2 separate regions of the Homo sapiens genome follow, and region 2 is linked to region 1. Evidence: promoter capture Hi-C in 16 types of primary human blood cells and fetal thymus (Javierre and others, 2016). All regions are on one chromosome and are shown on one strand. Each heading gives the region's core, a stretch centred on a gene start or on the middle of the fragment in contact. The rest is flanking DNA. Distances are from core to core; before and after follow the strand shown.

What was found. The method cuts DNA at HindIII sites, captures the fragments that hold promoters and counts their contacts. A CHiCAGO score of 5 or more calls a contact.
Region 2: a fragment that was not itself captured here is called in contact with the fragment with the promoter of TAT in region 1 in 2 of 17 cell types (total CD8 T cells and naive CD8 T cells); the score reaches 5.8 in total CD8 T cells.

What each region holds. Positions count from the first base shown.
Region 1 is chr16:71,575,842-71,581,030 of GRCh38, forward strand. It overlaps TAT (tyrosine aminotransferase), which reads right to left and starts at 1,251. Exons shown (of 12, transcript NM_000353.3): 1 at 1,168-1,251; 2 at 340-586; 3 at 81-185. The coding sequence starts at 574. The HindIII fragment of the contact is 5,727 bases long and covers 847-5,189 here.
Region 2 is chr16:71,982,180-71,987,368 of GRCh38, forward strand. PKD1L3 (polycystin 1 like 3, transient receptor potential channel interacting) reads right to left here. Exons shown (of 30, transcript NM_181536.2): 5 at 4,042-4,290; 6 at 1,857-1,988; 7 at 1-56. Among named protein-coding and RNA genes, the nearest start is that of PKD1L3, 16 kb to the right of the region's middle. The HindIII fragment of the contact is 222 bases long and covers 1,914-2,135 here.

The sequences.
Region 1 (5,189 bases), core at 1-2,500:
GATTGCTAGACATTTAGTCCTGTTATAAGAGCACTAAAGATTTGGCAGTCACCAGGTATGGAGTCTCAGGAGGAGCTTACCGATGGATGGGGCATAGCCATTATATTTGCCCGAGTCCAGGGCATCTTTCATTGCCTGGGTAACTTCAGGGTCTGTAGGCAGGTTTCCAAACACAGTAGGGTCCCCTTTTTATGGGAGGAAAACACAAAAGGAGCCAAGAGGTTATTCTCCCATGTTCAGTACTCAGACTCACCCCCAACTGCCATCTTCTCCAACCAGCCTGTGAACATGAGAGTAGAGGAGGACAATGACAGCCCCTCAGTAGTGTCCCCAACTCACCAATGGACAGGGAAATCATGGTTTTGTTTGGATTTGGTTTCACCTTCATGTTGTCCACAATGGCTCGGATGGGGTTGAAAGTTTTCTTGGCCATGTCTGAGGGCCTCACAGACCACCTGGCCTTTCTGCCTTTCATTTTTCCCGGCACAGAGCTTCTCCCACCAACGTTGACATGCACGTCCAGAATTGAGGGGAGGTTGCCTTTGCTGCTCATCTGAATCATGTATGGGTCCATCACTAGCGAAGCCTGCGAGGGGAAAGAAGTTCCCTGTGATGTTGATAACATAGCGCTGGGGGACAGAGGAGCTACATTTGGACCTAAACATTGGGTGACTTCACTAAAAGTGTCTTTCCAAACTCTCTCTTTATTTTTTTTTCTACTTTCTGTTGTAAAGTAGCTTTACTATGAATGGGGGAGTTTTAAGAGTTTTTACTGAGATGGAAAATAAAGCAAGAACCCATTCTACTTAAGTAGGATTTGCTACACGCATCTGCAATTCCTGTCAAAGCTTAACCATGCTCTATGTGAAACCAAGAAGGAATAAGATGAAAATTGTTCATCAGTCAAAGCATAGGTTCTCCTTCCTTTCCATGCGAGCCTATCCAAGAAAATCTACCTAATGCTTCTTGTCATCTGCAGAGGACCAGGAAGAACCACTCCATCTTGTTAGAAGTTCCATGTAAATATCATTGTTAGTAAAAGTAAAACCTTATCCCATAAGCATGTTACAGCCCTAGCTGGAAAAAGAAATCAATACACCAAAAAGAAAAAAATTAACAGCTCAATCAGTCACCACTGCCTGATCAGCTTGGGCTTGAGATTTTTACCTTCCAAGTAAAGGAGAAAGCAGCCTCCAAGAAGCCAACCCCGAAAGCTCCCTTAGCTCTTCTTTGACAGGTTACAGGGGCAATGAACTCAGATGCAAATCCTAACTCCTGAAATAGTCTCCACAAATGGGCGTTGGGCTTGAAACTTTCATGCCATTGGTTGGAATGACAACTCAGCAGCCAGCTCTCCCCTCAGCTTCTTTCCTCCTCTCCCCCGTCATTGCCTCTCATCCCTAAGCCCACCTCCCACCCTCAAAGCAGGAATTTGTCCTCACTTCAAACATCTGGAATTCTCCTGTGTTAACTCTTTCTGGGCACTTGGTGAGATGGTTTGAGAACATCTACTGTCAGAAAGTACTTCTGGTTACAGTTGATAGCTTTTATTAAATTTTTTTTACAAAACAGCCTGTTAAAATTTTAACAGTACAGAAATATATAAAGTAAGAAGTGAGCATTCTTCCTTGCACCTGCTCCCTGTACACTTCATTCTCACTCCCAGGGGTAGAGGGTGGTAATGGTCAGGCTCTTTCCCTCCATTCAGAGATAGATACATTACATATAGGTGCATAGATACATAATTTCATAGATTTCAAAACACAGATAGGATCGTGCTCTACACCTTGTTTGGCAACATTTTTTTTTTAACTTCCTACATCTTGGACGCCCATCCTTGTCAGTCCACAAAGTTTTGCTCCAATCAGAACAAATTGGGCACTTAAGTTCCATTCAACAAATAGCTGAAAAGCACAGGGTGTCCAAGGCAGCTGAAACCTGTGCAGTTTTATCCTTGCACTGTGCATGAATTCTTCATTTACCTCCTATGGTTGTTGGAAGAATTTAAAATGTCAGGTGCGATCCACACAAAACAACTTTGCTAAGCAAAACACAAGGTCCACAGCCAAAATCTCAACATTCCTGTGAGCAGATGGAAAATACCACCCACTGAAGGGTTAAGAGAAGCCTCAGTGATCTCCCCAGGGCTCAGATCCTGTCTGTTTATTTGTTGGAAGACAAAGATTTTTCACATCAGTTTGTTCTTCTCCATTCACTTTTCAGGGAGTCAAGCCTCCAGTGGGGTTGAATACAGTAGTCCCCCCTTATCCACAGGGAGCACACTCCAAGACCTCCAGTGGATGCCTGAAATTATGGATGTCTGAAACCATGGGTAGTACTGAGCCCTAGGTACACTATGTTTTTTCTTATACAGTAATGGCAGGTAACGTCTATAGCATGGATACACTAGAAAAAATTATTCACGTCTTGGGCCAAGGGCATCCTTGTCATAAATGTTAGTTTACATATTTGATTATTTCCTTAAGACAGATTTCTATACAAGGACTGTGTTGCAAAGAATAAGCATTTCTCTTTTACATTTTTAGTAAATATGATATATCCTTATATAATAAATTCAAATAGAGATGTACGTGAATTAAACCCTGATCACCTTCCCTCCCTGCATTCTCATTTTATATAAAAAAATCATTTTTAGTCATTTCTTGTGTACCCTTCCAAATGTTTTCTATGTTTATTACAATACGTATAAAGCTGGTTTGGGAGTTGCTAAAAAAATGGAGAGTAAACGTGGTCTATAGTTGCACTGTCTAATATTGTAGCTACTAGTCATAAGTGGCCGTTGAATACTTGAAATGTGACTGGTCTGAATTAAGATGTGTTGTAAAATACACATCAGGTTTTGAAGACTTAGTATAAAAAAAGAATGTTAATATCTCATATAATTTTGTATGATTACATGTTTAAAGAATATTTTGGGGCTGGGCATGGTGGCTCACACCTTTGGTAATCCCAGCCTTTCGGGAGGCCAAGGTGGATGGATCACTTGAGCTAAGGAATTCAAGACCAGCTTGGGCAACATAGTGAAACCCCGTCTATACAAAAAGATACAAAAACTAGCCAGGCATGGTGGCATGAGCCTATAGTCCCAGCTACTTGGGAGGCTGAGGTAGGAAGATCACCTGAACCCAGGAGGTCAAGGCTGCAGAGAGCTGTGATCATGCCATTGCACTCCAGCCTGGGTGACAGAATGAGACCTTGCCTCAGAAAAAAAAAAAAAAAAAAATATATATATATATATATATATGTATATATATATATAAAATGTATTTTATTTTACTCAGTACACCGTATATATATAATAAAATATATAATAAAATATATGATAATAAAATACATGGTGTGCTGAGTAAAATAAAATACATTCTTAAAATTAATTTCACCTATTTGTTTTTATATCTTAAAATATTTCTATTAGGAAATTTGAAGTCACTATGTGGCTTGCATTCTGTCTATTGGACAGGGCTGTTCTGTAGCTTGCTTTTTTTAAAATCTTAATAATGTGTGGGCTGGGCGTGGCAGCTCATGCCTGTAACCCCAGCACTTTGGAGGCCAAGGCAGGCAGATCATCTGAGATCAGGAGTTCAAGACCAACCTGGCCAACATGGCAAAACCCCATCTCTACTAAAAATACAACAATTAGCCAGGCACAGTGGTGCACACCTGTAATCCCAGCAACTCAGGAGGCTGAGGCAGGAGAATCGCTTGAACCCAGGAGGTGGAGGTTGTGGTGAGCCGAGATCGTGCCACTGCACTCCAGTCTGGGCGACAGAGTGAGACTCCGTCTCAAAAAATAAAAAATAAAAATAAATAGCCTGGTGTGGTGGCTCACGCCTATAATCCCAGCACTTTGGGGTTGCTGAGGCAGGCGGATCACGAGGTCAGGAGATGGAGACCATCCTGGCTAACACCGTGAAACCCCATCTCCGCTAAAAATACAAAAGTTAGCCCAGCCTGGTGGCGGGTGCCTGTAGTCCCAGCTACTCGGGAGGCTGAGGGAGGAGAATGGCATGAATCCGGGAGGTGGAGCTTGCAGTGAACTGAGGTCGCGCCACTGCACTCCAGCCTGGGCGACAGAGCCAGACTCTGTCTCAATAAATAAATAAATAAAATAAAAAATAAAGCATATCGAATGTCCTTGTACATTCATGATTGATAGAGAACTTTTATGCATATCCTGTTATTTGAGGGATAGTTTCAATTACGGACTATACAAAGACGAAAGCAATGCAAATATGTTTAATTTGAACAACCTCTTGGAGTTCAGACTACCTGTCATGACAATATACTGTGCTTGAGAGATGACACAGGTACCTCACTGAGTGTTACTGTAGTGGTTCTCCAGGTGGACAGAGACTCAGAGGTGTTAAAAAAAATTATTCAATAACACTTGTTAAAGCATGGTAAGGCAGACTTTATTCAGGACCATTCCAATAGCTAGACGGCCCACTGCAATGGATTTTCCAGTGGGGAAGAGAAATTGGATTCAACTCCAAATATGGTGATGGCAAGTGTGGATTTATAGCCAAGGATGGAAAAAGTAAGAGGAATCATCAGGAGTAAGGGGGATTCTGCTAAACTGACCTAGAAGGCCAGTGTCAGTGTCATCCTGCTGAAGACAGGCCATGGTGACCAAACATTCCCTGGGGGACGGCAAAGAATGAGGAACCTGGTCAGATATGCAGGGTGGGAAATCTTGCCAAAATGACTCAGGGTTCTTTGCTAAAACTGGATCTTGCAAGGAAGTGCAGATGGGCTTAGAAGAAGATCCAGAAGCCTGACAAAAGTCTGGTCAATCAGAGAATCTTTGTCAGAGGTTGAGACCACTGGTCTTTAAAAGAGATCAAGTAAGAATCAGATTTTTCTCAATGTGAGAAGGCTACTATGACTGATTTCTGTCACTCAAGGTTCAGATTTTCTTTTCTTTTTTTTGAGACGGAGTCTCACCCTCCTCACCCAAGCTGGAGTGCAACGACGCTATCTCAGTTCACGGCAACCTCCGCCTCCCGGGTTCATGCCATTCTCCTGCCTCAGCCTCCCGAGTAGCTGGGACTACAGGCACACACTACCACATCCGGCTAATTTTTGTATTTTTAGTAGAGACGGGGTTTCACCATATTGGCCAGGCTGGTCTTGAACTCCTGACATCAAGTGATCCTCCCGCCTCGGCC
Region 2 (5,189 bases), core at 775-3,274, 410 kb after region 1:
AATGGGATCCTGAGTAACTCCTCACTCAGGTAAATAAGGGAATTGATGAGATTAACCTGGGAGGATTAGAAAGCAAACATACACCCTTGAATTGTTTGCTTTTTTTTTTTTTTTTTTTTTTTGGTGACAGAGTTTCACTCTTGTTGCCCAGGCTAGAGTGCAATGGCGTGATATCGACTCACTGCAACCTCTGCCTCCCGGGTTCAAGCAATTCTCCTGCCTCAGCCTCCTGAGTAGCTAGGACTACAGGCATGAGCCACCATGCTCAACTAATTTTGTATTTTTAGCAGAGATGGAGTTTCTCCATGTTGGTCAGGCTGGTCTCCAACTCCTGACCTCAGGTGATCTTCCTACCCTGGCCTCCCAAAGTGCTGGGATTACAGGTGTGAGCCACCACGCCCAGCCTATGATTGCTTTTTAAAATTTTACTTTTAAGAGATGGGGTCTTGCTCTGTTGCCCCGTCTGGAGTGCAGTGGTACAATCATGCCTCACTGCAGCCTCGAACTTCTGGACTCAAGCAATCCTCCTTCCTCAGCCTCCCCAGTAGCTAGGACACAGGTGGGTACCACCACACCTAATTTTTAAAAATTTTTTGTAGAGGCAGGGGCTCACTGTATTGCCCAGGCTGGTCTCAAACACCTGGCCCCAAGAGATCCTCCTGTCTTGGCCTCCCAAAGTGTTTAGATTACAGACATGAGCCACACACCTAGCACATGATTATTTTCAATTTGCATACTTCTTATTAGCAGCTTAATATTCGTTATACATTTCAAATGCATTTTATAAAAAAAAAGTTACAATTTGACAGGGAAGGAGAATATATTATTTCATATAACCTATAAGGGAGGATTCATATTTCATGTTATTCTGACAAACTGACAATTCTTTTTGAGTGGTGAGTAGACCAAATATCCAATTAATACCATCAGACTAAAAAAAGGAATGAAGAAAAGACCAATGCTGAGTTTTTTGTCTTTTTAATTTCAGACAGAGTGTGGCTCTGTCACCCAGGCTGGAGTGCAGTGGCAGAGTCTTGGCTCACTGCAACCTCCACCTTCCGGGCTCAAACCATCCTCCCATCTCAGCCTCCCAAGTAGCTGCAACTACAGGTGAGCACCACCACACCCAGTTAAGTTTTGTATTTTTGATAGAGACAGGGTTTCACCATGTTGCCCAGGCTGGTCTCGAACTCCTGGGCTCAAGCTATCCGCCTGATTCAGCCTCCCAAAGTGCTGGGACTACAGGTGGGAGCCAATGTGTTCCACTGAATGCCGACAGACTTCTAACAAATGCATCAGCAAGGCAGTACCAGCTGATTAATCAACAAATGAACATAAACACAGTATATCCAACAATGTCACTACTGATCAATTTAATTCATAACTTTCCAGATTTAAAGGTAAAAAAATATGCTTGCTAAAATTTAAATACAGTCTTTATAATGCTAAGCTTGGCATAAGGCACAATCTCCAGATTCTCTTTCTTTTTTTTTTTTTTTTTTTTTTGGAGACACAGTCTCTCAGCCACCCAGGCTGGAGTGGAGTGGCGGGATCTTGGCTCATTGCCTCTGCCTCCTGGGTTCAAGTGATTATTGTGCCTCAGCCTTCCAAGTAGCTGAGATTACAGGTGCCCGCCACCGAGCCCAGCTAATTTTTGTTTTTTCAGTAGAGACGGGTTTTGCCATGTTGCCCAGTCAGGTCTTGAACTCCTGGCCTCATGTGATCCGCCCGCCTCGGCCTTCTAAAGTGCTGGGATTACAGGCGTGAGCCACCGCACCCAGCCTCAGATTCTCTTTTTCTGTTTTCCGCTTTTCCCTCTCTCCTACCTTCTTCCCTCCCAGTCACCCTCCACTTACCTGAGCTGGCTTAGAAAATCTTGGGGTTAAGGCTGTTAGTTTCTGGAGGAACTCACAAGCTTCCTGTAGTTTGTTAAGAGCTTGCAAACCATGAACTGCTCTGCTGAAGTTCCCTGCTATCTCATCTATGACCTATTGGGAACAAAGAAGTTGTCAAAATTACTCATACAAAATTACTGTACTGTAGTAGTCAGGGAGATTATTTTCATCCAAGTTGACCTTGGGTAACTTTATAAACCCTATGAACCACAGCTCTCTAAAACAGTGATTACTTTCAGAAGCTTTTCTGCGAGTGGACAGAATTTATTTCTACTTCTTCCATACGATAGAGAAAATGAATAACGAGATTATATAATGATTGCTCCAAGGGCAAATGAGTCTGGAAATAAGATTTATAGCAGTAACTTTAAGTGTTAAGGCCATGAAGATGAGGGAAACTTGGAAATTAAAAAGCCAAAACCAAACTTTTCTATTCAGAAGTATGTTTTCCTCTCAGGCTTCCCTGTGTGTGTGTTTCCCTCCATTCAAGTATTCGTATTTAAGGCTGGGCGTGATGGCTCACGCCTGTCATCCCAGCACTTGGGAGGCTAAGGCAGGCAGATCACTTGAGGTCAGGAGTTCAAGAGCAACCTGGCCTACATAGCAAAACCCTGTCTCTACTAAAAATACAAAAATTAACCAGGCTTGGTGGTGTACACCTGTAGTCCCAGCTACTCGGGAGGCTGAGGCAGGAGAATCTCTTGAACCCGGGAGGCAGAGGTTGCAGTGAGCCGAGATTGCGCCACTGCACTCCAGCCTGGGCGACAGATCGAGAATCTGTCTCAAAAAAAGAGTCCATATTCAAGAGGTAATGACTTAAAATGACTCATAGCAAGAGGTGGGAAGCAGAAAACCTCCCTGCCCTAAGAAACAGACTGAGCAAATGGCCGCGGTCCCAAAGCTTAAGTGGCTACTGCACTTGAACTCAAAGTCCAACCCTGAGACAATCACCATTAATGCCAACTACATGGTCCATTTCTGGAGAATACCTCACTCACAGCCTAATTCAACCACATATTCAAGAAATCTTGATTAAATGCTGACATTGCTAAATCCTCTTAATATTTCTAATAATTTATTATAGATCCTTTTAGATATTCTGTACTTCAGGATTTCCAAGAAAAACAAAAACAAAAACAAAAATCTTTGTTTAAACTCCTGTAGGTCAGTTTCTCCCCCAAATAGAACACTGAATTTCCATTACCATTGCAAGCAGATCCAGAGTGAACAGGATTGTTTTAGCAGGGAAATGTTCAACTGCATATAAACAGGGCTCGTTTGAGTTTAGGGAAAAAAAAGCATGAGGGAAGCAGGATTATTTTCTTCAGTCAATACTGTCAAAGGGACTTTGCCTTTTTTTGAGAGAGAGTTTTGTTCTGTTGCCCAGCCTACAGTATACAGTGGCACAATCATGGCTCACTGCAGTCTGGACCTCCCAGGCTCAAGCAACCCTCCCACCTCAGCCCCTGCCCCGCCACCCCCAAGTAGCTGGGACTACAGGCACATGCCACCACACCTGGCTAATTTTTTTTTGAAGTTTAATAGAGAAAAGGTCTCATAAAGTTGCCTAAGCTGGTCTCAAACTCGGGCTTACGTGATCCTCCACCTCGGCCTCCCAAAGTGCTGGAATTACAGGCGTGAGCCACTGTGCCTGGCTAATTTTTTTGAACTTTAGTAGAGAAAGGTCTTGCTACGTTGCCCAGTCTGGTCTAAAACTCCTGGGCTCAAGTGATCCTCTCACCTTGGCCTCCCAAATGCTGGGATTATAGGCGTGACTCAGTGAGCCTGGCTGCCTTGTCCATGTTTTTGGGAGGAAGGAAACAAGGCGGAGAGAGGGGACAGTGAGTAGGAGGAATTGTCTAGAGGTTTGCTGCTGCTGAAAAAGCAGGGTAGGTGAACAGAACTTCTTCCCCATCTGAAGCATTAAATAGAATAGCATTAAATAGTGTCATTAATGAAACGTTGGGCTGTATATGTGCTGTCAAATTGGCTGTTTCCATGGACTTGTTTAGTTTTTGTTTTGGATTGGCATATACGCTGGTCTGTCAGGCATTCTTAGGTGTAGTTCTGCAGGGAGGCAAATGGGTGAACCAAGTACTTTTTGGGGGTCACAAAGCTACCTGTGACTTGAATTTCCCATGTTTACCTGACCAGATGCCTTCTGCAATGACACTTGTAGATAAGAGGTGAAGGTATTCGGATGACCTTCTTCCTTTGGGCTTGAAGTTGTTTCTGCCAGAGATTGCCCAGCATGCGTGACAGACACGGGCATGGTGAGCTGTGTTATCACAGGGAGAGGCTGGCTGCTGGGTTCAGATGCGGCTGATGTTACCTGTGATGTGATACTTGATAGTACTGAAGGAAACTGGCTGATGGGATGACACAGGGTCTTGGACTAAAAGATAAAAATATGTAAAGGAAAAGACTGAATCTGATTTTACCATTTTATAATTAAGGCAGCATTTCCCCAAATACTCTGAAACTCTGTCCTATGAGATACTAATAGGCATTTCTGTTAAAAAAAATTCTGTGCTCAAACAGAATTTTGAAATTTCAAGAAATCTGCATATTACTTGAGATTCATGATTTATATTAGTGTATTTATTGTCAATCGTTCAATAAATTCTTAAACATTTATAAGTTGCTAAGAATGTTCTAGAGAACTGAATATGGCAATGAGCAAAAGGAGCCAAGTTCCTGCGCTTGTCGAGCCCCTGTGTTAGTGGTAGAGGCAGAGAAACAAATTATGTCACATATTAAATACGTGCTATGAAGAAAACAATAATGCTAAGCAGAGAGAAAGTGGATGTCATGGAGGATGTTCAGTGGTAAGGAGAGGATTTTTTTTTTTTTTTTTTTTTTTTTTTTGAGACAGAGTCTCACTCTGTCTCCCAGGCTGGAGTGCAGTGGCACGATCTCGGCTCACTGCAGCCTCCGCCTCCTGGGTTCAAGTGATTCTCCTGCCTCAGCCTCCTCAGTAGCTGGGATTACAGGCGTGCACCACCATGCCCGGCTAATTTTTGTATTTTTAGTAGAGATGGGGTTTCACCATGTTGGCCAGGATGGTCTCGATCTCCTGACCTTGTGATCCACCCACCTTGGCCTCCCAAAGTGCTAGGATTACAGGCGTGAGCCACTGCACCCGGCTGAGGAGAGGATTTCTTGAGACTGGTTGTCACTCTGTCACCCGGGCTGGAGTACAGTGGCACAATCATGGCTCCTTGCAGCCTTGACCTCCTGGGTTCAGGTAATCCTCCTGCCTCAGCCTCCCAAGCAGCTGGGACTACAGGCACA